Regions from separate parts of the Homo sapiens genome. Here regions 2, 3 and 4 are each linked to region 1. Evidence: promoter capture Hi-C in human tissues and cell types (Jung and others, 2019). All regions are on one chromosome and are shown on one strand. Each heading gives the region's core, a stretch centred on a gene start or on the middle of the fragment in contact. The rest is flanking DNA. Distances are from core to core; before and after follow the strand shown.

Region 1 (2,997 bases), core at 292-2,791:
TTACTCCAATGTCACCTTCTCTGAGAGTCCTTCCTTGACCAATGTGAAATAGCCCCCCTCATAATCACTTTTACATGATTCTCTATTATTACAATAGTCACAACTCTATTAATATCTGGATTTATTTATGTCTTGTCGATTTTAGAATTTAAAAGCTCTATCCCCAAAGCCTCCCGTAGTATACAGTAGGTACCTAATAACTTTATTAAATACGTGAATTTTCCCCATTGCATTATTGTAAATCAACCAATTCTGATTAAGCACTTTGGTCCATGTCATATTTTGTATTAACAAGTCGTCAAAACACTCCTTAAATTTTCCAATCTAAGACTATTTCAGCACTCTAACCGCAGCCCCCAACACAAAATCTATCTATAGCATCCCACTTAAAACTGCTAAATATTCCATATGGATGAAGATTCAATTTTCTTCCTCCTCTCCAAGCTAACGAACGCGTAGGCGGGAAAGGGGAATTTTACTGGCCACCTCAGCACCTGTTACATCTTCAATCAGTGAAGAGAGGTGCAGATGAGCCAGACAGCACATGGGAGACGTGGCCTTGCTTTCAGGAATTATATTTAGGTGAAACGTGAGTGATTTAAGCTAGAACTGCCCGAATCCCCAATAAAGGCCGTCTACTTCATTTAGAAAAACAAGGTAAAATAATCTGTAGGAAGTAAAATACAGTCGGTTTCACTAAAATAAACCGATTTTGAGGCCCCCGGAAAATATTGCGGGTGGGGGTTGGAGACGGTCTATATATAACGGGAAAACGAGAGCAGCTCAGCAATAAAATAAAGCTCGACTCAGGCTCTCGGGGGTATCCTGAATCTGGAAGCGAGGTGGACGAGGAGGAGAAGCCACAGAACCCTGGGACCTCCGTTCACCGCTTCGGCCTCCACCGCAGGCACTTGGGGAAACTGCACAGATCTCTGGGTCCGCCTATCTCCCACTGCCATCCCTGCAAAGAGATATCCCCCGGATACTCACATGGGCTCGAGAGTCTTGCTGAGCCAGGACTTGAGTGCCTCGAAGTTTTCAATGATCATTTTAGAAACCATCCACAGCGGCCCTAAGGCCCGTCACACTCCTCCGCCCGCCCAGGTCGCGGCCGCTACAGCCGCCGCTGCCCCCGCCCCCTCCTCCGCGCGCCGCCCGCGTGGGCCGCGGTGGGAGGCGCCGGTGGCAGGTTCCCGCGGGCCCCGGTCGGCGAACAGCTCTGCAAGGACCGCCGCAGGCCACAAGTGCACGGGGTGCCAGGAGCTCCCCGTCCCCGGCCCCCAGCCCGGGCTGAAACAGCAACGGTTTGCCCGGGCCCTCCCCCTTCCCTCTTCCCCAGCAAATCTACCCAGACCGGAAGCGCGACACGCGCTTAGACCCGAGCCTTCTCTCAGCCTCGGGACCAGGTGCTTGTTGGCTACGTCGAAAAGGCAAAAGTAAAGAAAGCGAAGGCGAAGGGCAGCTCAATGGGAACGATTCAGGGGGTCTTCCCGGCTCCCAGCACCCCCAAGAAGATGGCTGCCGGTAAATCTCGCGAGAATTGATGAAGTCTCGCGGTGGCTCCCGGAGCCTGCTGGGAGAGACGTAAGGTCGGCGGAGAATGCGCGGGTCGAGTGCTGTAGTTCGATTTTTGCGTGTGTGCGTTGCTTGCGGCCTTTGTGCCTTTTTATTCTTTGCTTACCTTTATGATATAAAGACCTTATTTCTTACAAGGAGGAAAAGACCGCTGACTTCAGAAACAGCGGGAACCCCAGCTCGTCCCCGGTAAGACGGCCGTGGCCTGTCAGCTGGAACGGTCCTGCCGGATGGATCGCTCTTTGAGAGCGTACACTCCCGCGTGCGCGACACCAGGCGGCCCGTAGGTTCCAGGTGCCGAGCACACTACCTCCTCAGTTTACCTAAGTGCCCTACCAGTATCATATTCTGTGTATGCTGTGATGTGAACGAGGTTTGTAAACACAGGCTGGTCTAATGGAGCCCAATGAGACCGCCAGAGGATTAGTGTCTTGTCCAACAGTACTTGACTTGCTGGTAGAGCCCTAATGACTGAGGGCTGCCCACAAGGGAAAGGTGAGAGAACCTTCACGTCTCTCAGGTAGTTTCCAGCCTGCACTTTCCCCCAGCTAAAGATAAGTTTTGTTATTTTTAAAATTCTCTTTATTTAGAGCAAATTCAGCCCTATCTCAGATCGGGAAATTATATAGTATCAAAAGAGAGAGTCTTCATATTAGCAACCCAAATAAATAAACTATTTTCCTGGGTGATCAAATAAGTTTGATTCCTGCTTGAGTTCTATTTAGATACTAGGTGGAATTTTACAAAGGGTCTACGTTCCATGAACTGTAATGGAATGAAAATATTCACAATCTAAAGACATTTTCAGTAAGTAGATCAATAAAAGCTCTTTATGAGAGACACCGATAGGCTAAATTGTTCTTAGGAACTCTTGAGTTTATAATTTGCTAGAGTGAAGTGTCTTTAAGGATTAGGTGGAAAGATTATGAACTACAAAGCAAGACATTTGTTTTAAAATACAGCATATAGAGTAGAATACAAATTAGAATCCAGCTACTGAATAACCAGGGTGTTGATTAAAGTGATTTAGCTGAGTGAAATAAACCAGACATGAAAGGACAAATATTATGATTCCACTTACATTAAGTACCTAGAGTAGTCAAAACTCCTAGAGACAGAAGGTGGAATGGTAGCAAGAGCAGGGGTGGAGAGGGTGCCCAGGAGAAGGGGAAATGAGGAGTTATATTTCAGTGGATAATAGAGTTTCAGTTTAGGATGATTTAGATTCTGGAGATGAGTGGTGTTGTGTGGGTTGCACAATATGAATGTACTTAATGCAGTGGACCATATACTTAATGAAAACGGTAGGTTTTATATGTATTTTACAATAAAAATTGTTTATAAATTTAATACTGCCGAAAGTTAAAATTATATTTGTTTAGTCTGTTTGTTGTAGCCTTGCCACAGGCTGACGCCACCAAT
Region 2 (2,997 bases), core at 165-2,664, 960 kb after region 1:
GGTATAGGTATTCAGTAGGGAGCTTTGGAGTCTCAATGAGCTTCTTAAAGAAGCATTTTTAATGGTAGGTTTTAGGGAGAGTTTTTGTAGTAAGATAAAGTAGATGAGAAAGTGTTGCCTCTAAACAATCAACAAGCTGGGAATGGGGTGCAGAATGAGGAGAACCCTAAGCAATAGGCAATAAGGAGTGAAAGGAAGGAGGTGTCACTCATTGGGAAAGAAAAGGAACTGTATGTCCTCTACTGAGAGCTGCTGTCTTCTTAAAAGTCATTTTTGTGAGGTGTGCTTGCGGAATGGTAAAACAGAAAGGAAATAACAGAGTAGAAGGTCAGATCTCCCAAATCAACCTTACTCATCACTGGTGTGCAAGATACCATCATCAGATCATTTTAACACTCTGGAAAATACCACGGAGAGGTTTAGCAAGTGACAATTAACATCAGGGAGAAGCAGTTTCTAATAAGGAGATCCAGCCATTGCTGCTGGAGTTTAGATGTGGAATTTCTAGGCTCTGGAAAGTGTAGAGGCAGAAATGAGGTGATTACTTTCCTCTCCATCATAAGCATTATGGCTAACACCCCTATAACAAAGGCAGGTTATCAAGAAAAAAGAATAATACATTTATTTAAGCACAGTTTGATATGATATGGGAGGCTTCAGAATGAAGACCCAAAGATGCAGGGAAAATTGTTGCGTTTTATGCTGATGTTCAATGAAGTATGGATAGCCATATAAAATATGATTGGACAAAAAGGATAAAATCTAATGCTTTGATGCTAATAGACAGAGTCAGGAAACTCGGCAAAGCCTGTCCAGATTTTTCTTGGTCTTTCTGTACAGCATTATTTTGTTGACAAAAAAAGCCAAACTCTGTAAGATATTTGAAGAGGTTTATTCTGAGCCAAATATGAGTGGCAGGGCCTTTGACACAGCCTCAGGAGGCCCTAAGAACATGCACCTAAGAGGATTGTGTTACAGCTTGGTTTAATACATTTTAGGGAGACAGAAGTTATAGGCATGTAAGGTATACATTGGTTTGGCCCAGAAAGGTGGGACATCTCAAAGTGAGGGGGGAAGGTGGGGAAGGGGAGCTTCTTCGTCATAGATGGATTCAAAGATTTTCTGATTGACAATTGGTTGAAATAATTAAGCTTGGCTGGGTGTGGTGGTTCACGCCTGTAATCCCAGCACTTCAGGAGGCCAAGGGAGGTGGATTGCTTGAGCTCAGGAGTTCAAAGCCAGCCTGGGCAACATGGCAAAAACCCGTCTCTACTAAAAATACAAACATTAGCTGGGTGTGGTGGCACATGCCTGTAAACCCAGCTACTTGGGAGGCTGAGGTAGGAGTATTGCTGGAGCCTGGGAAGTCAAGGCTGCAGTGAGTTGTGATTGCACCACTGCATTGCAGCCTGGGTGACAGAGTGAGACCCTATCTCAAAAACAAAACAAAACAAAACAAAAATAATGATAATAATTAAGCTTTGCCTGATGACTTGAAGTCAGCATAAAGAAATGCTTGAGTTAAGATAAGGAGGTTTGTGGAAATCAAGGTTCTTACTATGTAGGTGAAGCCTCTTAAATAATAGATGTAAATGTCTCTTATGGGACATAAAAGATGCCAGACTCTTACTTAAATCTCTCCTGGGTCAGGAAAAGACAAGGAAAGGGAAGGGGATTATTTACTGAATGTAGATTTTCCCCACAAGAGACAGCTTTGCAGGGCCATCCAAAAATATTTCAAATAAATATATTTTGGAGTAAAATACTTTGTTTTTTTTTGGGGGGGGGGCCTGTTATTTGTCATGTGATACTATAAGAGAGTTAGGTTGAATTTGCTATCTTATTGCTACAAAGAATCTGTTTCGTCAGCCTTATGATCTCTATTTCTTTCTTTCTTTCTTTCTTTCTTTTTTTTTGAGATAGTCTTGCTCTGTTGTCCAGGCTGGAGTGCAGTGGTGTGATCTTGGCTCACTGCAACCTCTGTCTCCCGGGTTCAAGCAATTCTCCTGCCTCAGCCTCCCAAGTAGCTGGGATTACAGGCACCTGCCATCATGCCTGGCTAATTTTTGTATTTTTGTAGAGATGGGGTTTTACCATGTTGGCCAGGCTGGTCTTGAACTCCTGACCTCAGGTGATCCACCTGCCTTGGCCTCCCAAAGTGCTGAGATTACAGGCATGAGCCACCACACCCAGCCTATGATCTCTATTTCAGTGTTAATGCTGGTCAGTGGTGTCTTAACTCTGAAGAGAACAGAGTATAATAAGGCATGTCGGACCCCACTTCTTGTCATGGCCTGAACTAGTTCTTCAGGTTTCTTTCAGATCACCTTGGCCTAGAGGGGGGTCTATTCAGTCAGTTGAGAGGCTTAGGATTTTAATTTTTGCTAACGCTTTCCTTTGGGATATGGAGCAGGACCCCTCTGGAATGAGGGTCTAATTTCCTTATGGCCAGGTATTACACAGAAAGATGGGGGAAGGATAGAGTTGTATTTTTAGGCTTTAGGACTGACTTTAGAGAAAAAGCGTTCTAATTTCTATGGCTTGCCTCAGGGAGAATGAGGGGCAAGAGACAGGAGGGCAGAAGGTTGGAGAGAGACTTTGCTTTGCAAGCCTTCGCTTTGGGGTTTCTTTTTCTGAACCCCAACATTTCTCATTCTGAAACTTCCTCAAGAAGTTTCACAGTCCAAAAATTGATTGATAGATTGTCTCATAAGCCATTGAATCAGTCTCTCAGTCCTGATAATAGGCCAGTCTAGCTAAACAGTTAACAGTTGTGTCTCATTTCAGGCAGTGGTGTTGCCGATGGGCTTCCATGAAAGTCGGGGCTCTATACAGTGTGAGCAATGAGATATTTACTTTTGAGTATCACTTCCTGAGCCCCAACAAAGGACTTTAGAGAGTGCTGGGTGTGGATGTTGTGGAGGGGTTGGACTGAGGGGGCATAAATTCTTGGATTCCAGTGCTAGAGGACCTGGAGTCAACAGGGAGTGAATCAAA
Region 3 (2,997 bases), core at 284-2,783, 820 kb after region 1:
AATTCAATAAAATCTGGAAGGAAATTTGCTAAGATATGTTAAAACTGATAGTGTTAAAAATACATATGGGGAAGAAAAACATTTAGTTGAACAAATTTAGAAAGTTTGTGAAAATACAGTGTTTACAGCTGGTGATTATTTATTATATTATTCACCAACAGGTGCTTTGCAGAAAATAAATTAATCTACCATGTGCTTTTGAACTAGTAGTATAAATTTCACGTGCTCTTTTGAGCTAACCATGATCAGTTCCATGATTTTATTTGGTCAAAAATAGAAGCTAAATATTCCGACTTGCCCTACCACCCAGGAATTTGATGGTTTAGCAGTAAGAAAGTTTAACTGTGATTTTTTTTTAAGCCCAGGACCAAGATTGATTTTTTTCTGCAAGAAGGATTCTCAATCACTATTATGAAAAACCGAATGGCTTTGGAAGTTAGCCTTTGCTGCAGACTTGAAAATGTTTCTTCATAAACTCACCCTAACATTGCAAGGTCAAATAGCACTACATGAGAAATTTATACTTCAGTGAAGACATTTTGACAAAAACTAACATTGTTTAAATCACCAGTAATGTTAAGCTGCTTTATACATGTCCCATTCTGTCAAAGGTTAAAATAAAGAGCAAGATCTTCATTCCTACAAAAATACATAGTGCATGTATCTTTTGACCCCCTACTACAGTTCAAGTAACATTTTCCAAACATGGTACAAGTATGAAGGAAATTTCTATGTTTCAAAAAATCCATTTAAATATATAATTCAGGAGCTTCTGCCTAGTACTCAACTTGAAGTTAATAATCTGAGATGTAATCACATCCTAAAATGCAAATATCAGGAAAAAACATAATAGAATTCTTATATAAATTATTTCCAAGTGATAAATAAGCTCAGTTAAAGTCAGATGCTAAAAATAAACACGTGTCTGTCTAAAAGCACATTTTCCAAGATGAAATAGATAAAATATCATACACATTTTACAAATCAACATTAACAGATAAACATGTGCAATCAATTTTGATCATAGGAAACACTAATTTTGAACCCCAATTAAATAAAATATTATCCCCACAAAAGAATTGTATTCTCATTAGTAGACGTATGTTACACAAAAGTTATACTCAATTATTACTATATTTTAAATTTGATCAATAAAAATTTCATTAAAAATTTACTTTTTTATTATTCAAGAGCAATTGTTCCCTCAGTATCCATAGGGGATTGTTCCAGGACACTCATGGGTACCAAAGTCACTGGATACTCAAGTTCTTGATATAAAGGGATACAACATTTACATATAATCTACCCACATCTTCCCATACGCTTTAAATCCTCTCTAGATTACTTCAAATACCTAATACAATGTAAATGCTATGTATTGTAGTCTGTTTTGTGTAGCTATAAAGGAATACCTGAGCCTGGGTAATTTATAAAGAAAGAAAGGTTTACTTGGCTCACAATTCTGATGTCTGGAAAAGTTCAAGATTGGACATTTGCATCTGGTTAGGGCCTCAGGCTGTTTCTACTCATGGTAGAAGGTGAAAGGGAGACGGTGTCTGCAAAGATCACGTGGCGAGAGGCACAGTGGAGGTACGAGGCTCTTTTTAACAATCAGGTCAATGGATTGGTAACCAATGGATAAGAATGGTCTTGTAATTATACAGAGCTTTGCAATGAGTTGAGAGAGAACTTTTGATTGTTATGATGATGATACTTCTTATAATTTTGTTATAGTGTTATGAATAAATTACTCTCTTAAATACTCTTGGAAATAAACTCAATATAAATAAATAATAAAAGTAATTACAAACAATTTCTAAAAAATTAATTCTGCCAACTTTTCCATTAAGAGTTCATAGATACAAAGAACATATGGATGCTAGAACATGCTTGTTTGTTTGCTTATTTGTTTCATGCAATAATAAATTGTTTTCATCAAGCCTAATTTTAACACTGCATTTTAAATAAGCTTATTTTCTGATATATGTTTATATTTCTAATGGAAAATTGTATTCTAAAAAATCGAAGTAAAATTAAATCATATTGTTAAGAATAATGTCATTTCCTGCATTATATTTACATAATAGATTAAGCACAATTAGGCCATTTGAAGTACTTGCAAATTATCTCTTTCTCTTGTCTATTTTATACCTATCCATCTCTCTATTTTGTAACTGCCTCTCTCTCCATCCCTGCTTCCACTGTTTTTTTCTTTAAAATCTTATTATTTTTCCTTGGAAATGGTCTCTGAATCACTCTGATTGTATTCAATAAATTTTTATTAAATGTTCAATGACTAAATCAGAACTGGGTCACTGTTGGAAGCACAATTATCAGGCTGGCTTCCCTCACTCCATTAACTGAACTCCCATCCATCCAAATACACAAAACGACCTTTCTAAAATCCTAAACAAATCTTGTCACTCCCTGGTATAATAATCTATTTTCAATGCCTTCCATTTAAAACCCTGGGTGCTTAACATGACACATAAGACCCTTTGTAATAATACCCAAGCCTACTTCAGCCTCATTTCCTGCAACTCCTGCATGTTTCCCCTGTAGCCATTCTCAGTGTCCCCAAAGCATCAGGATTCTTTTTTTGTTTTTTCATTTGGTGTCTTTGCTCATATGGTTCACTCTCGTTTTATTCAGACCCTCTATTTTTCTCTTTCACTTTTTGAATAACTCTTCCTTATTTTTAAAGGCCTTGTCATCTGGATAAATTTCTCTCTGTCTATGCTCTCTGCCCCCAATTTAAGTGATTTCTCATGGCTCATATTATACTGATGCATAAGCATGTATTAACTCATCTGGCGCCTTTACCAGTTCATAGGCTACTAGAAGGCATCCAGTCACTCCTTCGTCCATCCATTTATAAGTATTATGTTCCTACAGTTATTATAGTGCCTGGAATATAATTAGTTCTCAAGTAAATATTTTCTCAGTAAAAGCCAGGCCATTGTAGTGAGTGAGGCATTGGGTTCAGTGGGCCAAAAA
Region 4 (2,997 bases), core at 201-2,700, 540 kb after region 1:
AGACCACCTCTGGGCACTTCTCTCTTAGGTTAAGCTTCTCATGGCACAAGGAATGAAGTGGCCTCTGCATCTTGGCCAGCATGGCTGTAGGAGGTCTAATTCCTGCTGACTTCTTCAATTTAATTTCACATCATTTCTCCTTCACCCACTTCATGCTAGTCACAGGGCCCATCTTTCAGTTTCTCATTTTCCTGAGGTCTTTGCATATAGTCTTCCTTCCGCAAGAAAGCTCTTTCCCTTCCAGGATTTTTGTCTTCTTCTCATTCATTAGGATCCCCTTGCCTTCTTTAATTATTCCATCCATACACAACCCCATGTTATTCTCTATTTCATCATGCTCTTCTTTTTATTTCACTTCCTATTTTGCAATGATGTGTTTGATGATTATTTATTGTCATCCTCTCACTGAGTTAAAGGCAGATGCTTCGTTTTGCTCACCATTGCACAACCAGTCACTCCCTGGGTCTGAGTAAACAACTGTTAAATGAATAGAAAAATTAATTAATAATCCAGGTATGTAAAGTCCTTAGTCAAGTGTATGCCACATGACAATAAAAACTTAAAAAATTAAAGCTTAATAAAACTTAAACAATAAAAGCTTAATAAAACCTATTTTTATTACCACAGTATTGATGGCCTCAAGTCATTATTGCTAAATATGTATATAAATGTATGGGGAATATCTAAAGAATGGTGAGAAGTTTGGGCATTTTCTACATGATTATCATATATATTCTTAGGCTGATTCAAATTATTCACAATTTAACGTAAATCCCCAAATAAACATGCAAAAGAATAATAAATATATGAAAAGATATTAAAACCAACTGAAAAATATGGAAACAACAATGAGATGTCATTTTTCAACTATAAGATTGGCAAAGACAGAAAACGTTGATACTATTTTGTATTGGCAAGTATATGGAAAAATGGACCCTCATGGATATTTCTGAAGGGCAAATGAGATAATACATAATGAAGTTTCAAATATGCGTGCATACCTGGGACCAGAATTTCAGTCCCAGGAAATTACACTATAAAAAAAGGACAAGATTTAAAAATTTGTATATAAGAATATTTAATCCAGGATTTTCATAATACAAAAAATTTAGAACTTTATAATAAATACTTTATTATAATGCAGAAAATTTGGGAATAACTGTATTATAAATAATGTTGTATTTATAACTGCTAAGCATAAACTGATACAACAAGCTTAGAAAACAATTTGACATTATCTTAAAAGTTTAACCTGACCATGTCCTGTAGCCAAAAAATTCCAATCTTTAGGTATATATTTTAGAGAAACTTGTACATGACCTACAAGAGACATACAAGAATGTTCTTAGCAACATTGTAATACCAAAACTGTTTGAGATGTACCACTTTCAGCATTGTTTAAAGCATTTTAAAATTTCTATTTTTTTTTTTTCTTGGATCCATGTATTATGATTAGAGAACATAATTTGCATGATATTTATGCTTACATGATGTTGACATTTGCTTTAAGCCCTGGCACATGGTTGATTTTGTAAATGTTCTGTGCATTCTAGATAATGTTTATTCTTCATTTGTTAGGTACAGAATTCTATTAACATATCAAATTTATTATATTCACATATTTTAAATATAGATCACTTAGAAATTTATTTAGCTATGTGTAAGTTTTTCCTTCTCCCTGCAAGAAAAATCTCTTTCCTCTTTCTCTCTTTTTTTCTCCTTCCCTGTACCCAATAGCTTCAATATTTAATGTCCTAATTGAAAGCATCTAATTCCATTTTGACGGCTTTTGTCAGCTCCATTGAAATAGTTTTATTGGGCTTGTGTTTTGTAATTGTGAGCTGTGAGCTCATCTTCCTCTGAACCCTACATCTGGCAATTCCCTGAGGCCTAGGTATGTCTCTCTAAAGAGTTCCTTTTTGTTTTTTGTTAGGCACCCTTAAATTTGGGTATGATTTTAAATTTATCAGCCTGGGGTTTCTCAGATCATGTACATTGTATAAATTTGAGGCCAGGTGCAGTGGCTCATGTCTATAATCCCAGCACTTTGGGAGGCCAAGGTGGGTGGATCTTTTGAGGTCAGGAGTTCGAGACCAGCCTGGCCAACATGGTGAAGCCCTGCCTATACTAAAAATACAAAAATTATCAGGGCATGGTGGTGGGTGCCTGTAGTTCCAGCTAATCGGGAGGCTGAGGCAGGAGAATCTCTTGATGGTGGAGGTTGCAGTGAGCCGAGATTGTGCCACTGCACTCCAGCCCGGGTGACAGAGCGAGACTCTGTCTAAAAAAAAAAAAAAAGAATTTAAATATATTGAATTTGAATTATATAAATTGAAATTTGAACCCCACACCTGTGTACCAGCTGACTTTAGTTGCAAGTTCTCAGAGGAGATTTTTTTCCTACCCAGTTTTCAGGGGGAACCAAAATGTAACCTTATAGTTCCCTTTGCTTTTTGATAGATTTTTCTAATCCCCTTTTTACTGATGAGGTACTTTTCCTGATCCTGAATTTATGCAGGGGGTTTAGTTCCAACTCCTGTATTTCATAGGCCCAAGGCCATGTCTCCAGTCTCTAGCACTTCATTTTATCTTAAAACCTAAACCTTCAAACTCAGGTATTTACAAAACTCTGATATCCACTACACCATTGGTCTCAGCTTACCTCTTTGGTTCCTATCTCCTTCCTAGCCTTGAGTCTTTGAGTATTTTGTATTTTGTCAGCTTTATTATGCATTTTTAAAGGGTCTGCACTAACACATTTGCTTCATGGTGCTGCTGTGAAATTAAATGAAATAATACACATACAATATTTGCTTACTGCCTGAATTATATGCAAATCTAGAGGCTTGGGTTTTAAAAACACTGGACTGAAAAAAAAAAGGAAAAAAGCATTTGGTGTGTCCTACTAGTGACAAGAAATGGTCTAAGGTTTCTATTCTACTCCCTTGAAAAGTCATCTTATACTCTCCTGCATATTGAGTGCACAATAGACATTCA

What was found. Contacts are between HindIII fragments. The study calls those that stand out against the background at their distance.
Region 2: a fragment that was not itself captured here is called in contact with the fragment with the promoter of RBM26 in region 1 in 1 of the 25 tissues and cell types used here (mesendoderm cells).
Region 3: a contact is called between a fragment that was not itself captured here and the fragment with the promoter of RBM26 in region 1, in 1 of the 25 tissues and cell types used here (dorsolateral prefrontal cortex).
Region 4: a fragment that was not itself captured here is called in contact with the fragment with the promoter of RBM26 in region 1 in 2 of the 25 tissues and cell types used here (dorsolateral prefrontal cortex and hippocampus).

The regions. Positions count from the first base shown.
Region 1 is chr13:79,404,714-79,407,710 of GRCh38, forward strand. It overlaps RBM26 (RNA binding motif protein 26), which reads right to left and starts at 1,542. Exons shown (of 22, transcript NM_001366735.2): 1 at 991-1,542. The coding sequence starts at 1,061. It overlaps RBM26-AS1 (RBM26 antisense RNA 1), which reads left to right and starts at 1,596. Exons shown (of 7, transcript NR_038991.1): 1 at 1,596-1,764. RefSeq lists a silencer at 1,098-1,297 and enhancers at 1,207-2,198, 1,528-1,827. The HindIII fragment of the contact is 11,102 bases long and covers 1-2,997 here.
Region 2 is chr13:80,364,916-80,367,912 of GRCh38, forward strand. LOC105370276 (a long non-coding RNA gene) reads left to right here. Exons shown (of 4, transcript XR_001749939.2): 4 at 1-1,137. Among named protein-coding and RNA genes, the nearest start is that of SPRY2, 25 kb to the left of the region's middle. The HindIII fragment of the contact is 3,828 bases long and covers 1-2,997 here.
Region 3 is chr13:80,227,637-80,230,633 of GRCh38, forward strand. No RefSeq gene overlaps it. Among named protein-coding and RNA genes, the nearest start is that of SPRY2, 110 kb to the right of the region's middle. The HindIII fragment of the contact is 3,415 bases long and covers 1-2,997 here.
Region 4 is chr13:79,943,426-79,946,422 of GRCh38, forward strand. No RefSeq gene overlaps it. Among named protein-coding and RNA genes, the nearest start is that of LINC01080, 66 kb to the right of the region's middle. The HindIII fragment of the contact is 4,166 bases long and covers 1-2,997 here.